Regions from separate parts of the Homo sapiens genome. Here all the other regions are linked to region 2. Evidence: promoter capture Hi-C in 16 types of primary human blood cells and fetal thymus (Javierre and others, 2016). All regions are on one chromosome and are shown on one strand. The core of a region is centred on a gene start or on the middle of the fragment in contact, and the rest is flanking DNA. Distances in the headings are between cores, read along the strand shown. Region 1 overlaps C1QTNF7-AS1 (C1QTNF7 antisense RNA 1). Region 2 holds the start of BST1 (bone marrow stromal cell antigen 1). Region 3 overlaps PROM1 (prominin 1).

Region 1 (4,959 bases), core at 2,365-4,864, 470 kb before region 2:
AATCTATGATGAAATCCCCATCACCCACTAATAAACATCAAGTGTTCCTATGCGGGCCCTCCAATATCAAGTAACAATGTGTGCTAAATACATCAGCCCCCGTACTTCCTTGCTGTTTTGTAGAAAGATTGGTGTACTTTCCTCCTACCAAAGTCATCTTACAGATAAATTAATTCTGCTGTTTTTAAACTGCCTTTATCTCCATGGTCTTGGCATTTACGTGCCACATTTTTTTCGGTTGTATGTTAATGTGATATTTGTCCATTAAAATTCTGAAAGTCTTTAAAATGAGAGGAAGAAAAAACTTCCCGGATGTTCAGCCTAATATACCTTTCTGGGTGATCTCTGCCTTTCATTGTCTTTTAATTTTTTTTTTTTCTTTTGAGCCAGAGTCTTGCTCTGTCACCCAGGCTGCAGTGCAGTGGCACCATCTCAGCTCACTGCAACCTCCTCCTCCCAGGTTCAAGCGATTCTCCTGCCTCCGCCTCCCAAGTGGCTGGGATTACAGGCGTGTGCCACCATGCTCAGCTAATTTTTGTATGTTTAGCGGAGACAGGGTTTCACGATGTTGGCCAGGCTGGTCACGAACTCCTGACCTCAAGTGATCTGCCCGCCTTGGCCTCCCAAAGTGCTGGGATTGAGCCACCATGTGAGCCACCACGCCCAGCCTCATTGTCTTTGAATCCTTCTACTACTCTGTAAATTGTAGAAAGCTGAGTCATGCAAATATTTGTGACCAGATCAATGCAAATGAATTGTGTCCCATAGAATGCAATTGCTCTGTGGATACTTATCAGTTTGTATCTATTAAGAAAATTTATTTCTGCATTCCTGGTTGCCTCAGAGTAGACACTCAAAAATGTTTGTTGACTGAATAAATGATATATGAATGAAGCTTAAAATAGAAACCATAAGAACCCTCCAATTAAAGTGTACCATTCTTATAGGTAAGGTGGGATTCATAGCACACCGCTCATCTTTCAGCTGCCAAGGAGCCTTGTCCACAATGCCTCTAGGCCCTTCAGCCTCTACAGGTTCAGCTACTCACTACTTAATGCTCACTCAAATATAGTCTCAAATGAGGGCACTCCCACTTGCTGTCTTTTTTTCCCCCTCCAGTCCTTGAGATACCATGCATGGGTGGGATCTTTGATCTTCTGCTGAATAAAGGCAGCAGACTACCTAGAAAGGAAACTGCAGAGTTACAATAGGTACACCTCACCATGGAACACTATACATCAATTACAGAGAGAAAAAGAAGACAGAGGGAGAGAGAGAGAGAGAGAGAGAGAAGTGGCAGAAAGATGTGGAACTTATCCAGGATGCCGAACGTTAAAAAAACTCAAATTGCAGAAGAACATGTTAGTATGATCCCATTCTTGTTAAAGCACTCGCATATAAGTTGGTGTATTCATGAAACAAAATGAACACAATCATATGCCAAACCTTTAAAAGAAAGTTGGGATTACGGAAAATGTTTCCTTTACAGACCATGTGTTTCTGTAATGTTTCAATTTTTTTTTTTACAATAATCACATATCACTTTTGTAGTAATAAAAAAAAACCTACAATTTTTTTAAGAGGAAAAGCAGTTGATTCTACAAATAGAAACCCATCTTAGTTCACTTGGGCTTCCATAAAATATACCAAAAACTAGATAGCTAATAAACAGCAGAAATTTATTGCTCACAATTCTGGAGGAAGTCTAAGATCAGGGCACTGCAGATCCACTCTCTGGTGGGGGACTGTTTTCTGGTTCATAGGTGGTGCCTTCTTGCTCTGTCCACACATGGCGGAAGAGGCAGCGCAGTTCTCTGCGGTCTGTTTTATAAGACACTAAACATTCTCACCTTACGGTATTTCTACCTCCTACTACCATCACATTGGTGGTTAGGTTTCAACACATGAATTTTAGGAAGATACAAACATTTATCCCATAGCAGAACCCTAAGATGCAGGCCCCAAGGCAGTTTTTGTGGGTGCCCAATGTAGGAAACATTAGTTTTTATAATATAATACTATTTTCAATCAGAACCAAAGAAAAAAAGAAATTGGGCAAATAGTGTTATCTTCAAACACAAAAGATAGCAACATTTTCAATGTAATGGTTTTCAAAGTACTCTGATAGAAACACACCTGGAATAAAACAAAGTTTATTAGGATTTTTCACTGTTTGATAGTGTTCATTATCTTACAATGACCTTAGTGCCAGGAATAATTCATCAGAGAAGTCTTCCTGTCACTGACGAATCTTGAAATGCTTTGTAAGTTTCCATCAATGTCAGTGTTTCCCAAGCTTGCTTTTAAAAGCATTTATTAAGCATCTAATGGGTGCCTGATATTTTATTACTTTCTTTCACATGACTATTTTCTTTTTGATTAAACCTTATTTAGTAAGTATTATTTTTCTCCTGTTTTTAGATGAGAAAACAAGGACTTAGGGTGGTTAGGAAACTACCTGATTACCAGCCACCTTGATATGAGGTAAAATGGGGAATGTGTGTATAAACGAAATAGAATTCAAACTGGAACCACTGTGCTAAGTGAACACAAGTGTCTCATTTCGTGGAGGACTCACCTTGGGCAACTGGCCCAGCACTCCTCAGTTATTTAGATCTAACACTTCCTTACACATTTGGGGAACATTGTTCTCAAACAGAAGGTCAGATGGTCCCTGAAGTCTACACATGAACTCCTTAAGAAACATTCCCGGAGTCCTATGACTAGGAAATAGCTTAGGTTTCTATGAGCTCTGATCCATTTGGATAGTTATAAACTCCCAAAAAGTGATATCTGAGCAGACATCATGTGTCATCGTGAAAATAAAATCATTGCACTGACTTATCTGAAATAGTCCTTAATATTCTAGCCACTGCCCCCTTAAGGCCATACTGTACAGACTTTTGGATTTGACAAACGTGGTCATCACCACACTGACAATTTAATCCCAATACTTCAGTGATGGTGCTGTGTGCTCACTGATATTAGGTTGGTGTAAAAGTATTTGCAGTTTTTGTCATTACTTTCAATGGCCAAGCCCGCAATTACTTTTGCACCAGCCTAATTCATTTTACCCTAGAGGTAAGCAAATGTGGCCATATTTTTATACCAGCACCAGGGGGCAGCAATGTGCAAATAAGGCCGCTCTGTGGCCTCCTCTGTTTGGCCTGGTTTGGGAGGAGGATGTGGTTCTCATTCCCTAGTGCTTCTCAGATTTAAAATAATGGTAATGTAATCATTTCAGCTCTGCTCTGGAAACTGCTGGTGCTAATTCATTTCAGATAAAAATACGCAGACTACACACATGTGCATCAAATCAGTCTTTTCAGGACTCAGGGTCTGCTCATTTGGGCATTTGTTCACCTAACCTTTAATCAGAAACTACTGCGTGCCAGGTACCGCCCTGGATGAGGCCATGCTCCCATCCAGTGGGGAAACAGACACACCCCATCCAAAACCACAACCTTCCCTACTTTTTCAGTTTCCCTTAAGCACTTATTTTTTAAATTTTTTTCTTGTGAGTGATTTGTCTACCTTGTTGGAACATAAACTCCTTGACAGCTGGGATTTTTATCTGTTTTGTTCACTGGAGTATCCCTAGCTACTAGAACAGCACCTGGGACATAATTAGGGTTCAATAAATATTTTTTGAATGAACAGGTATAAAATTATTGAGACACACCATAATGGAGGTGGACGTGCATATCTTCATATGAACTAGATTACGCTAAATTATTCACTTGAATAAATTTATTGTTTTATCATTCCCACTAGCAGTGAATGGGAGTGATGCCCGAAAATAACATTAAATTATCTGGTATTAGCATTAGAAGGAATTTGGGACATCACCAAATTCTCCTTTTACAGAAGAAGAAATTGAAGCCAAAGTGAAGAAGAGATTTGCCCAAGGCTACCTACATCCAGACGGTCGCGTCAGGATTCCAAGCCAGGACTTCTGACCCCAGCCCACTGTGTTTTCACCACACACCCTGCTGCCTGCCTGACTTTTTCATTTTCCTCAAATATCACCTCCTGGAACTATCAACTGCATAAGTTAATGACCTGATCTGTCTAATTCTTATTTGGTAATTGGCAGAGACCAGACTTGGCTGTCTGCATTCAAGGTCTCCAAATCAACCCTCTTAAAGGCATCTCTGCTCAGCCTCTCTGCATGAGATCTGGTATTTAGTTCCTAGCACCCACTGTGTACTAAGTTCTTCAGAAACATGTGGTCATTTGAACCTCACAACAATCCTACGCAAGTGCTATTACTATTCTCGTTTTACTGATGAGAAAATATAATAACAGTGTACATTGAACCCACAGGGCATGCAGCAGGAACTCAGGATTGTTCTAAGGATTCCATACTTGTGAGCTCATTTAATTCCCTGACAGCCTTTGAAGTGAGTGCTGTTACTGTTTTCTACTGTAGACATGGATATTGAAGTCAAAAGAAGGCAAGATGTTTGTCCAAGGCCATATCGCTGGGAAATGGCAAAGCCACCCTGTGTTTCATTACTGTGCTCTCCTTCCCCACTGAAAACAGAGGAGCTGTGGAGTCACGGGCACAAGGTCACACGGGCTGTGCCAGCTGAATCCACTTTTGTGCATGGTTTTTTCACAACGAGCTGGAGGTTTGGGCCAGAAAACCCTTTTGTTTGAAAGTCACAGATCTGAAACTCAGCACAAAAGAGGAGAAAGTGATAATGCAAAAGCTGCCTGGGCTGCAAGCAGCGTTTCCTCTTTGGGTTTGTTTTCCTTTCTAATTTGCCAAGCTCTTTCCAGGCTGAGGCAGCTGCCACACAAAGCTCTTGAGGAGATCCCACTAGCTGGCCAAGGGACAACCATTAGACAGATGGGCTGGACCTTCTGTTTCCACCCTTCCATCTGGGCACCAAGAGCCTGGGTCTGCCGTGGGTGTGGGGACACCCTGAAGCTTGCCCATTCCAGGCTCAACCG
Region 2 (4,922 bases), core at 769-3,268:
GGCAACCATTTGTCTCTCACCTACCTGAGACCTGGAAGCCCCCTCCGTGCTTCGAGTTGTCCCCGCCTCTCTGGACAGAACCAATGTACTTCTTACATATATTGATTGATATCTCATGTCTCCCTAAAATGTATAAAACCAAGCTGTGCCCTGACCACCTTGGGTACATGTCGTCAGGACTTCCTGAGGTTGTGTCATGGACACGTGTCCTCAACCTTGCTAAAATAAACTTTCTAAATTAATTGAGACCTGTCTCAAAATTTGCGGGTTCACACATGTTATTTAGAAATATGGAAGTAAACACAGGAACAAAACTTGAAAGAATTAAAAATGCTTTCCTCTGGAAAGTGGATTTAACTTAAGGAGGAACTGAACAGGAGAATGCGGGTTTTGGTTACAGAAAAAAAGAGATTCAAATAAAACAGTAGAGAACACCTGTTCTGTCCTCCCTTGTGTTTATCAAGTGCTTGCCAGGCACTCAAAGTTCATTGCTGTCATTATTGTAAGAATTGAGGACTTGGGCCTCCACGTGGTATTCTATTAATACTGGCTCTTTTTTTTTTTTTTTTTGAGACGGAGTCTCACTCTGTTGCCCAGACTGGAGTGCAGTGGCCCGATCTCGGCTCACTGCGAGCTCTGCCTCCTGGGTTCACGCCGTTTTCCCGCCTCAGCCTCCCGAGTAGCTGGGACAACAGGCGCCCGCCACCGCGCCTGGCTAATCTTTTGTATTTTTAGTAGAGACGGGGTTTCACCGTGTTAGCAAGGATGGTCTCGATCTCTTGACCTCGTGATCCACCCGCCTCGGCCTCCCAAAGTGCTGGGATTACAGGTGTGAGCCACCGCGCCCGGCCAATCCTGGCTCTCTTAAACTGAACATCTCCAGGATTTTGCATCTATCAGGAAGGGATATTGTGACCTCTGACAAGTTACAGTCGGCGGTAGGTATCCATGGAGAATTGGTTCCAGGAACCTCCTGGATACCAAAATCCACAGATGCTCAAGGCCCTTATATTAAATGGTGTAGTATACAGTATTTGCACATCCTCTTCTATAATTCACGTCATCTCCAGATTCCTTGTAATATCAAGTACTATGTAATTGTTACATAAGTAGTTGTTACATTGGATTATTTAGGGAATGATGACAAGGAAAAAAAAGTCCGTACATGTTCCGTACAGATGCAAGCATTCTTTTTTTCCTCAAATGTTTCTCATCCGTGGTTAGCTGAATTTGGATGATGAATCCGCAAATCTGGAGGGCCGAACATGCTTAACTTCCCTGAGTTTATCCATTGCTAAAGCGAGAGAAATTACAAACTTAGCTAGGAAGGGTGTTGCGGAAAGTAATTAATATTATACTTGCAAAGTGCTTGGCACGTTGTTGTGGTTATTATTTCCTGAAAACAAACAAACACCACTTATTGGTTGGTGTGAAAGAGGGCATCTGTCAAAGTTGTCGTCCTTTGGAGCCAGAAAAGTATTTCTTCTGATGATGACTGACCTCTCCTCACCTCTCCTTCAACCTTGCGGCTTCTTTGGGGCTCCCTCCCCGTGGACAGCGGTCAAGATTAGCCTGGGCCACAGTGCACTGGTCCTGTCCTGGGTGATGTTCCAAGCTCACTCTTTTTTAATTTTATTTATTTATTAATTTTTTTTTTAGACAGAGTCTCACTCTGTCGCCCAGGGCTGGAGTGCAGTGGTGCAATCACTGCTCGCTGCAGCCTCGATCCCCTGGGGTCAAGCCTCCTCACATCTCACCTCGCAGGTAGCTGAGACTACAGATGCGCACCACCAGGACCAGCTAAGTTTTGTATTTTTTTGTAGAGAGGAGGTTTCTCACCTGTATGTTACTCAGGTTTGTCTCGAACTCCTATACTCAAGCGATCCGCCCGTCTAGGCCTCTCAAAGTGCTGGGATTACAGGCATGAGCCGCCGCGCCCCGCCCCACGCTCAGTCTTGAAATTGTCTGGAACGGGAAACGGCAAACAGCGAGATATCCGAGCGAGAGTCCCGCCCTGCATCAGTTTGCGGAACCGCCTTGGTAGAAGGAGAGAAGGGGAGTGGAGGAAGCACGGGACTGGAGGGACCAAAGTTCCCCGATGGCGGCCCAGGGGTGCGCGGCATCGCGGCTGCTCCAGCTGCTGCTGCAGCTTCTGCTTCTACTGTTGCTGCTGGCGGCGGGCGGGGCGCGCGCGCGGTGGCGCGGGGAGGGCACCAGCGCACACTTGCGGGACATCTTCCTGGGCCGCTGCGCCGAGTACCGCGCACTGCTGAGTCCCGAGCAGCGGTGAGGCAGTCGGCCGGGTGGAAGGGGAGCCGGAAAGAGGCAACGGTGGGGAGGGCCTGGGGAGGGGAAAACTGGCGCTAAAGTTCGGGGTGAGGGGGCAATGAGAGAGGCCTTGAGGGGAGAGGTGAGTGTGGAGACAGCGATGGTCCTGAACGATGGGGGCGAGTGAGGAGGGGGCTGTGAAGTGTGTCTGCAGGTGAGGGGTGCGCTGTGCGGGGTCTAGAGATGAGTGTGTGTGTGTGCGCGCACACACACACTGTAGAGGTGAGGGGTGTGTGCGTGTGTTCTAGAGGTGAGGGGGGTGTGTGTGTGCGCGCGCTCTAGAGGTGGGAGGTGTGTGTGTGCTCTAGAGGTGGATGTGTGTGTGTGTGCTCTAGAGGTGGGGGTGTGTGTGTGTGTGTGTGCTCTAGAGGTGAGGGGTGTGTGTGTGTGTTCTAAAGGTGAGATGTGTGTGTGTGTTCTAGAGGTAAGGGGTGTGTGTGTTCCAGAGGTGAGGTGTCTGTATGTGTGTTCTAGAGGTGAGGGGTGTGTGCATGTGTGTTCTAGAGGTGAAGGGGGTGTGTGTGCGTGCGCTCTAGAGGTGAGGGGTGTGTGTATTCTAGAGGTGAGGGGTGTGTGTGTTCTAGAAGTGAGGGGTGTGTGTGTTCTGGAGGTGAGATGTGTGTGTGTGTGTTCTAGAGGTGAGGGGTGCGTGCATGTGTTCTAGAGGTGTGTGTGTATCTGTGTTCTAGAGGTGAGGGGTGTGTGTGTGTAGTCTAGAGGTGACAGGTGTGTGTGTGTGGTCTATAGGTGAGGGATGTGTGTGTGGTCTAGAGGTGAGGGATGTGTGTGTGGTCTAGAGGTGAGGGGTGTGTGTGTTCTAGAGGTGAGGGGGTGTATGTGTATTCTAGAGCTGAGGAGAGTGTGTGTTCTAGAGATGAGGTGTGTATGTGTGTTCTAGAGGTGAGGGGTGTGTGTGTGTTCTGGAGTTGAGGGGTGTGTGTTCTAGAGGTGAGATGTGTGTGTTCTAGAGATGATGGGTGTGTGTGTTCTAGAAGTGAGAGGTGTGTGTGTTCTAGAGGTAAGGGATGTGTGTGTGTGTGTGTTCTAGAGGTGAGTTGTGTGTGTGTTCTAGAGGTGAGATGTGTGTGTGTTTGTTCTAGAGGTGAGGGGTGTGTGTGTGTAGTCTAGAGGTGACAGGTGTGTGTGTGTGGTCTATAGGTGAGGGATGTGTGTGTGGTCTAGAGGTGAGGGATGTGTGTGTGGTCTAGAGGTGAGAGGTGTGTGTGAGTGTGAAGGAGGGTGGAGAGGTATCCCTCTAGAAGTGAGGGTGGGGTAGAGGTGAACTGGGTAACAGCCCATTGCCACCCAGCAGATGTTTAGTCTGAATACTCAGAACCCAGAATGTGATCTCAGGTTGGAATTCCTTGAGTCCAGTCCTTCCAGAATTCAAATTTCAGATCCCCTAAATCTGGAGGATTTCTGAAGTTTGGGTCTTTCTTGCCAGTGCTGCATTTCTTACTGATTTTTGTTCCTTCTGTGGCCCCCCTTTTCTTATGTTTGTGATGTCTTTCTTGTGCTGATCATTTTTATTGTCGCACATTTCAGGCAAATAAGAAACAGCAGAGAACCACCTGTGTTACACACCACCCAGTATGAGAAACAAAGTTACAAATGCTATGGGAAATATTTTTTGAAAACTAGCATGGACCTCAAGAGGGGCTTGCACTGGAGGGTGCACCTGCTTTGCCAGAGGTGGAAGCCTTTTGCAGCATTGGGCCTCCCTCCTAACACTACACATCCTGCTGGCTGGCCTGGCCTCACCTGGTCCCCGAGCTCCACACTGGAACTGGACTATGAGACTGGCCCCACCGTTAGGTCTAAATGAAGAGGCACCTGCTGTATAGTTGACTGAATTTGTCACCTCCTGCTCGGTGCCATTTCTGCTTGTCTCCGTGAGCCTGGGGCAAGGCTGTATTCCTTAGCTCTGAGAAATCTGTGCAGTGCCTTCAGAGAGACAATTCCAGTGTCAGATTTCTGAATCTGTCACCTAAGCCATGACAATTCGTTGTCTTTTTTGTAAGCCTACTTCTGCAGTTACTATATGAAAAATCTCTTGTAAAGCTCTTAGACAAATGGGCATACTTCACAACACATTATGATGTGCATGTGTGTGTTCTTCCCAACTTGTACTTTTGCACAGGAACAAGAACTGCACAGCCATCTGGGAAGCCTTTAAAGTGGCGCTGGACAAGGATCCCTGCTCCGTGCTGCCCTCAGACTATGACCTTTTTATTAACTTGTCCAGGCACTCTATTCCCAGAGATAAGGTAACACCACAACCATCTTGGGTAAAACTGTGTTCTCTGTCTCTACAGAAATGGATGGTGCATGGGCCAGGTTGACATTAGCTGTCCCCTGCATCCTGCAATGTCACAGAAACATCAGGCAGCACACATAATGTGTGTGCTGAGCTCTCTGTGGGAAGCTAGCTTTGTTTCTGTATTAGTCCGTTGTCACATTGCTATAAAGAAATGCCTGAGACTGGGTAATTTACAAAGAAAAGAGGTTTAACTGGTTCACAGTTCCACAGGCTGTACAGGAAGAATGGCAACATCTACTTCTGGGAGGCCTCTGGGAGCTTTTACTTCAGCAGA
Region 3 (4,912 bases), core at 1,225-3,724, 270 kb after region 2:
CCACAAACCCTTAAGTAAGGGTTTACAGTGGTCAAAGGGTGAATGTTTTGCCTTGTTACCTCATTGAACCCTCACAACCCTACGCAAACAAGGCTCTTATTTTTATTTATTTATTGAGACGGAGTCTCACTCTGTCGTCCTGGATGGAGTGCGGTGGTGCAATCTCAGCTCACTGCAACCTCCGCCTCCCGGGTTCAAGCGATTCTCCTGCCTCAGCCTCCCAAGTAGCTGGGATTACAGGTGCCCGCCACTACGCCCAGCTAATTTTTTGTATTTTTAGTAGAGATGAGGTTTCACCATGTTGGCCAGGCTGGTCTCAAACTCCTGACCTTGTGATTTGCCTGCCTTGGCCTCCCAAAGTGCTGGGATTACAGGCGTGAGCCACCACACCCAGCCTCAAAGCTCTTATTATTCCCTCCTTCTACAAGTGAGAAAACTGAGTCTCAAGGACATTAAATAGCACTTCCACAATGACACATGGAGGCAGAGCTAGAATCCACTCCAACTCAGACCCCTGGGACCTCTAGGAGGGTCTGGGTGGAAAAGAAAGGTGTCCCAATGTCCCTAGAGTTTCTGGGATGTCATTTCCTAACCTTCTGCAAATAAACCAAATCAAAACTATGATTCTTCACTGACTGCCTGTAGACGGGCTGAACATCCAGGAGACTTGCCAGGGTTCCCACTGGAGGTGGGTGTGCAGGAATGAAAACAAGTCTCGATTTAATTGTTACCATGAAAGATGCTTCAGCGAAACTCACATAAGGTGTCACTCAGTCTTTGGGATTCTTCTCTTACTGAAACAAAACACTTCAACCCACCCTTGGAGTTCTACTATAGAACACAGAATATAGAAAGTAGAAAAAAATTCAAGTGTGCTGTGGACCGTTAAGGAAGGACGTCCAACATTAGTATATCCCTAGCCCCAGGCTTCACAGGTGTATGAAGTGCTAGGCCCTTAACAAAGACAAGTCCTTCCAATGTCTGTCGTAAGCAGAATGACCACAGAATCATCCTAAAGCTTCATTTATGTATTTAATAGAACAATGGCATTTAATCTAGTTCGAATTTCAACACTAAAAGCCCAAGATGAAATGTTCATTAGCAAGTGAGAAGAGTGGCATTTCTCAACACCGACTAGGGCTGTTTTCTAACATTTTCCTGTTTTCCATCATCATGCCTTTTTTCTTGTACAGCAAGTTAAATCCAAGAGTTATCAAGTCTTATGCTGTTCCAGCAATGTGAGTAAAAACTAGTAAATAAGGAGAGCTACGACAACCTTCTTGAGCCTAGAGAATTAAGTCTTTGACGCTACACGCAGGACATCTGTGGCACTAATAGGTGCTCGGTTATTCTCTTCTAGATGCTAGAACTGGAAGTCTACCCTCCTTTGTGGGAAAGGTCTCACGTGGTGGCATAAGACAGAAGACAGCTGACGCCTGCCTATTTCCAGCACTCAGATCTGAAGCTGGGGATTAGCCAGAGTCCAGTTGGCTGTGATGATCATGCCTAAGTGACAAAGGTCTGTGGCAGTACTGGTGTGCTGAGAGGACCCTGGCATCTCAAAGGCTGTCTTGTCAACTTGCACACTGACACCTCCCTTTCAATTGCAGGAGGACTTATTGGATGCAGCACATTCTTCCAGGCCTACCAGTGCATCTGCTTCTCAGGGAGCCGTGGAGTTGTGCCTTCTAGATTCCCTTTTAGGAATGACTTGCCTCCAGCTGGGGGCAGCATGGTCAGCAGAGAGCCTCCAGCTGTCAGAGCCTACCACTCTGACAGCAGAGCCTACAGCTCTATGGCAGTGCTGCTCCAGCCCTGGGAGCAGTGACTGGGGGAGGAGGGGGTGCAAAGACTTAGCTAATCTGTAATGATTAGCCCAGTGTGGGCAACTCCCTACAGGCCATGCTTGATCCAGAGCTCCTGCCTAGTCGGGCCAAGGCTTTGGCAGGCCAACCTTGACTTCTCCCCCTTTTTTTCACAACCATGGCTCCTCATAAACATCCTGCACTCCAAACTCCATTTGAGCACTGCTTCCAGAAAGCCTGCCTGTGGCAGCCTCCACCCAGGCTTGCATCTCTCTCTCTAGCATCTTCCAGGCAGCCTGGATGACTCTTCTTAGAACAGAGAGTACTTTCAGTGCCTTCACAACCAACAGGCAAACACCAGGAAGCAATTCTACAAATTCAAAGCAGTCCTAGAAGATCCGATGTTAGGGCAACATAGGTAATTGAGAACAGCTGTCCTCTGATCTTGAAAATTTCAGTCCATATATATAAGACACCCTCCAAGCATGCTACACCGCAAAAAGGAAGGCCAGGACATTATGCAGGCAGCCGTACTGTCTACTCTCCCCAGAGCACACCTGGCTAATTGATACTTAAATCGATCTTCAACTCTGTCACAACACAGCACTCTAGCCACCAAGCCTTGCATACTGGAAGTATCAGATGAGATGAAGTCAATTTGCCATTTCATGACTTTATTTATTTATTTAGAGACAGAGTCTCCCTCTGTCACCCAGGCTGGAATGCAGTGGCACGATCTCAGCTCACTGCAACCTCTGCCTCCCGGGTTCAAGTGATTCTCCTGCCTCAGCCTCCCAAGTAGCAGGGACTACAGGCGTGTGCCACCATACCTGGCTAATTTTTTGTATTTTTAGTAGAGACAAGGTTTCACCGTGTTAGCCAGGATGGTCTTGATCTCCTGACCTCGTGATCCACCCGCCTCGGCTTCCCAATGTGCTGGGATTACAGGCATGAGCCACCGCGCTTGGCCAAGAACTTGATTTTTTTAATTATCACCATTTCTTCTCTGATCTGAATGTTTGTGCACTCTTAAAATTCATACATTGACGTCATAATCACGGTGACGCTTTAGGTCATGAAGGCAAAGCCCTCATTAGTCTCTCATTAACGCCCTTAGAGAATAGACCCCAAGGAGCCAGCTTGCCCTTTCCACCATGTGAGGATTTGGCAAGACAACGCCACCTATGAGAAAGTGGTCCTTCACCGGACACCGAATCTGATGGCACCTTGATCTTGTATTCCAGCCTCCAGAACTGTGAGAAATAAACCCTGATGTTTATAAGCTACCCAGTTTAAGGCATTTCATTATAGCAGCTGGAATGCACTCAGTTAACTTCTCTTCCCCTAAATGGAAAATCATAATGAAAAGTTCTGATTTTTTTACAATGTTCAAAGTTTTAAGTTCAGGAAGCCATTTACCTCTTGAAAGGACAAATTTTAATGACTTTCTGGTTCTGTTCATCTTGAAATCTGACCAAGGTGGAGCATCAACTGTTACTAGGTAATATTGCTTAAGATAAGGATGTGCCTGACTGGTAAGCAGCTTCTGGCCTGGGAGGCTCTAAATATAAATACCTGGTGTGAAGCCAAAGCTGTGGGCTTACCTGAATGTGGGCACTTTTAACTGGATGCCTCCCATGTGGAGCGTGGGCCTTCTAAGGTGGATCTCCCCCATGCACCAACGTTAGACTCACCCTTTTGCATCTGAGACATCACTGTGGGGAGCGGGCTCGGGGGAGCACTGGCGGGCCAGCTGTATGGGCGTGGGAAGGATCACGCCCACTGAAGAGGACAGCCCACTGCTGCCCTGCTGCCCTGCACACTATGTCTCCACCTCTTATAAGCAGATAGGTCCCTGGCTGACGTGTGGGTCTGAATTCTTAGTAGAGCCTCAGAAGAGGACCGACCTCTGGCAAGCAAAGCTCAGAGTTACCTGACATATGATATATCCAGAACCACAGAAGCTCCTTAATTCTAGAGAATGTAAATTCATAAAGATTTCGGAGGAATAATTGAGGTTCTTTTTCTGGTTGGTTACAGTTAATTTATTGGAAGGAAGGAAAAAAGGAAGGAAGGAAGGAAAGAAGGAAGGAAGGAAGGAAGGAAAGAAAGAAGGAAGGAAGGAAAAGCTTTGAAAACTGTAACTACTCAGGTTATTTGGTGCAGAGAAATTCTAAATGCAAGGTATGCATGCATTTAATCTGTAATGATCTACAGCCATACATAGCATTTTAAGATGACACCAAATTTTAGTTGCTGAATAATTCCATTGTTTAGAAATCGACTGAACATTTAAACTCATGGCATCATGGAACACTATGTAGAGCATGATTGGAGACTAGCATTGATAAAGTATCATACAGAGAGAAGTGAAGGCATCAGCAGCATGCAGAAAATTCAGTGCTGATCTATAGGAGATGAGACGGTTTATCATAGGGCGGGCATGCACTTCCAGACTTTGCTTTACCTTGTCATAACAGGATTGTGAATACCATATACATGATCTTTATGATAACCATTATTACCATTTTCCATACTGTAACAGAAATAAATACACCAAAAACACCATGTTATCTCTAAGATGAAGTATTTACATCATGGATTACAAAGACAATGTAATGGTCATGAAAAGTATGTAACAATTTGTTAAATCTAAAAAAAAGACAAATGAGTAATTGACATTTTGCTCCTTTTAAACTTCAAAGACCAAAGGACTACTTTATAGATTAATAAACTTAACATATAAAATTTCATTAATTCATCAAGTATTTCTTGAGCACCCTCTATGTGCCAACCCTCTTTTTAAGACCATTGCAATTTATTTTTGCCTGTACAGATCTGCTGTTTCTACATAATTTTAAGATGTTAATAACTTAATTTTTAAAGTCCATTACATAATAATATCAACCTCCCCCATCCCATCTAGGAATATAGTTTTTTTAAAAAGGCTTACTTTTTCATGGGTATAGTTTCAACACTATAAAATACAAAAAAGGGAGATAAAATTAATTTTTTTAATTATTATGAAAGCTCAGCAACTACATCCCCCAAATATTTACTCTAACACGGATACTGACAGTGCAAACTCAGGAAAGACCCATGTTGAA

Evidence for each region. Contacts are between HindIII fragments. The CHiCAGO score rates a contact against its expected background, and 5 or more counts as called.
Region 1: a contact is called between a fragment that was not itself captured here and the fragment with the promoter of BST1 in region 2, in 2 of 17 cell types (neutrophils and total B cells). The highest score is 5.5, in neutrophils.
Region 3: a contact is called between a fragment that was not itself captured here and the fragment with the promoter of BST1 in region 2, in 1 of 17 cell types (naive CD4 T cells). The highest score is 5.3, in naive CD4 T cells.

The regions. Positions count from the first base shown.
Region 1 is chr4:15,228,589-15,233,547 of GRCh38, forward strand. The region is part of intron 2 of C1QTNF7-AS1 (C1QTNF7 antisense RNA 1); the gene reads right to left. Among named protein-coding and RNA genes, the nearest start is that of C1QTNF7-AS1, 200 kb to the right of the region's middle. The HindIII fragment of the contact is 2,640 bases long and covers 2,295-4,934 here.
Region 2 is chr4:15,701,047-15,705,968 of GRCh38, forward strand. BST1 (bone marrow stromal cell antigen 1) reads left to right here and starts at 2,019. Exons shown (of 9, transcript NM_004334.3): 1 at 2,019-2,286; 2 at 4,469-4,595. The coding sequence starts at 2,099. RefSeq lists a silencer at 1,958-2,037. The HindIII fragment of the contact is 13,056 bases long and covers 1-4,922 here.
Region 3 is chr4:15,975,123-15,980,034 of GRCh38, forward strand. It overlaps PROM1 (prominin 1), which reads right to left. Exons shown (of 28, transcript NM_006017.3): 25 at 4,759-4,782; 26 at 4,273-4,341. Among named protein-coding and RNA genes, the nearest start is that of FGFBP2, 14 kb to the left of the region's middle. The HindIII fragment of the contact is 2,916 bases long and covers 1,017-3,932 here.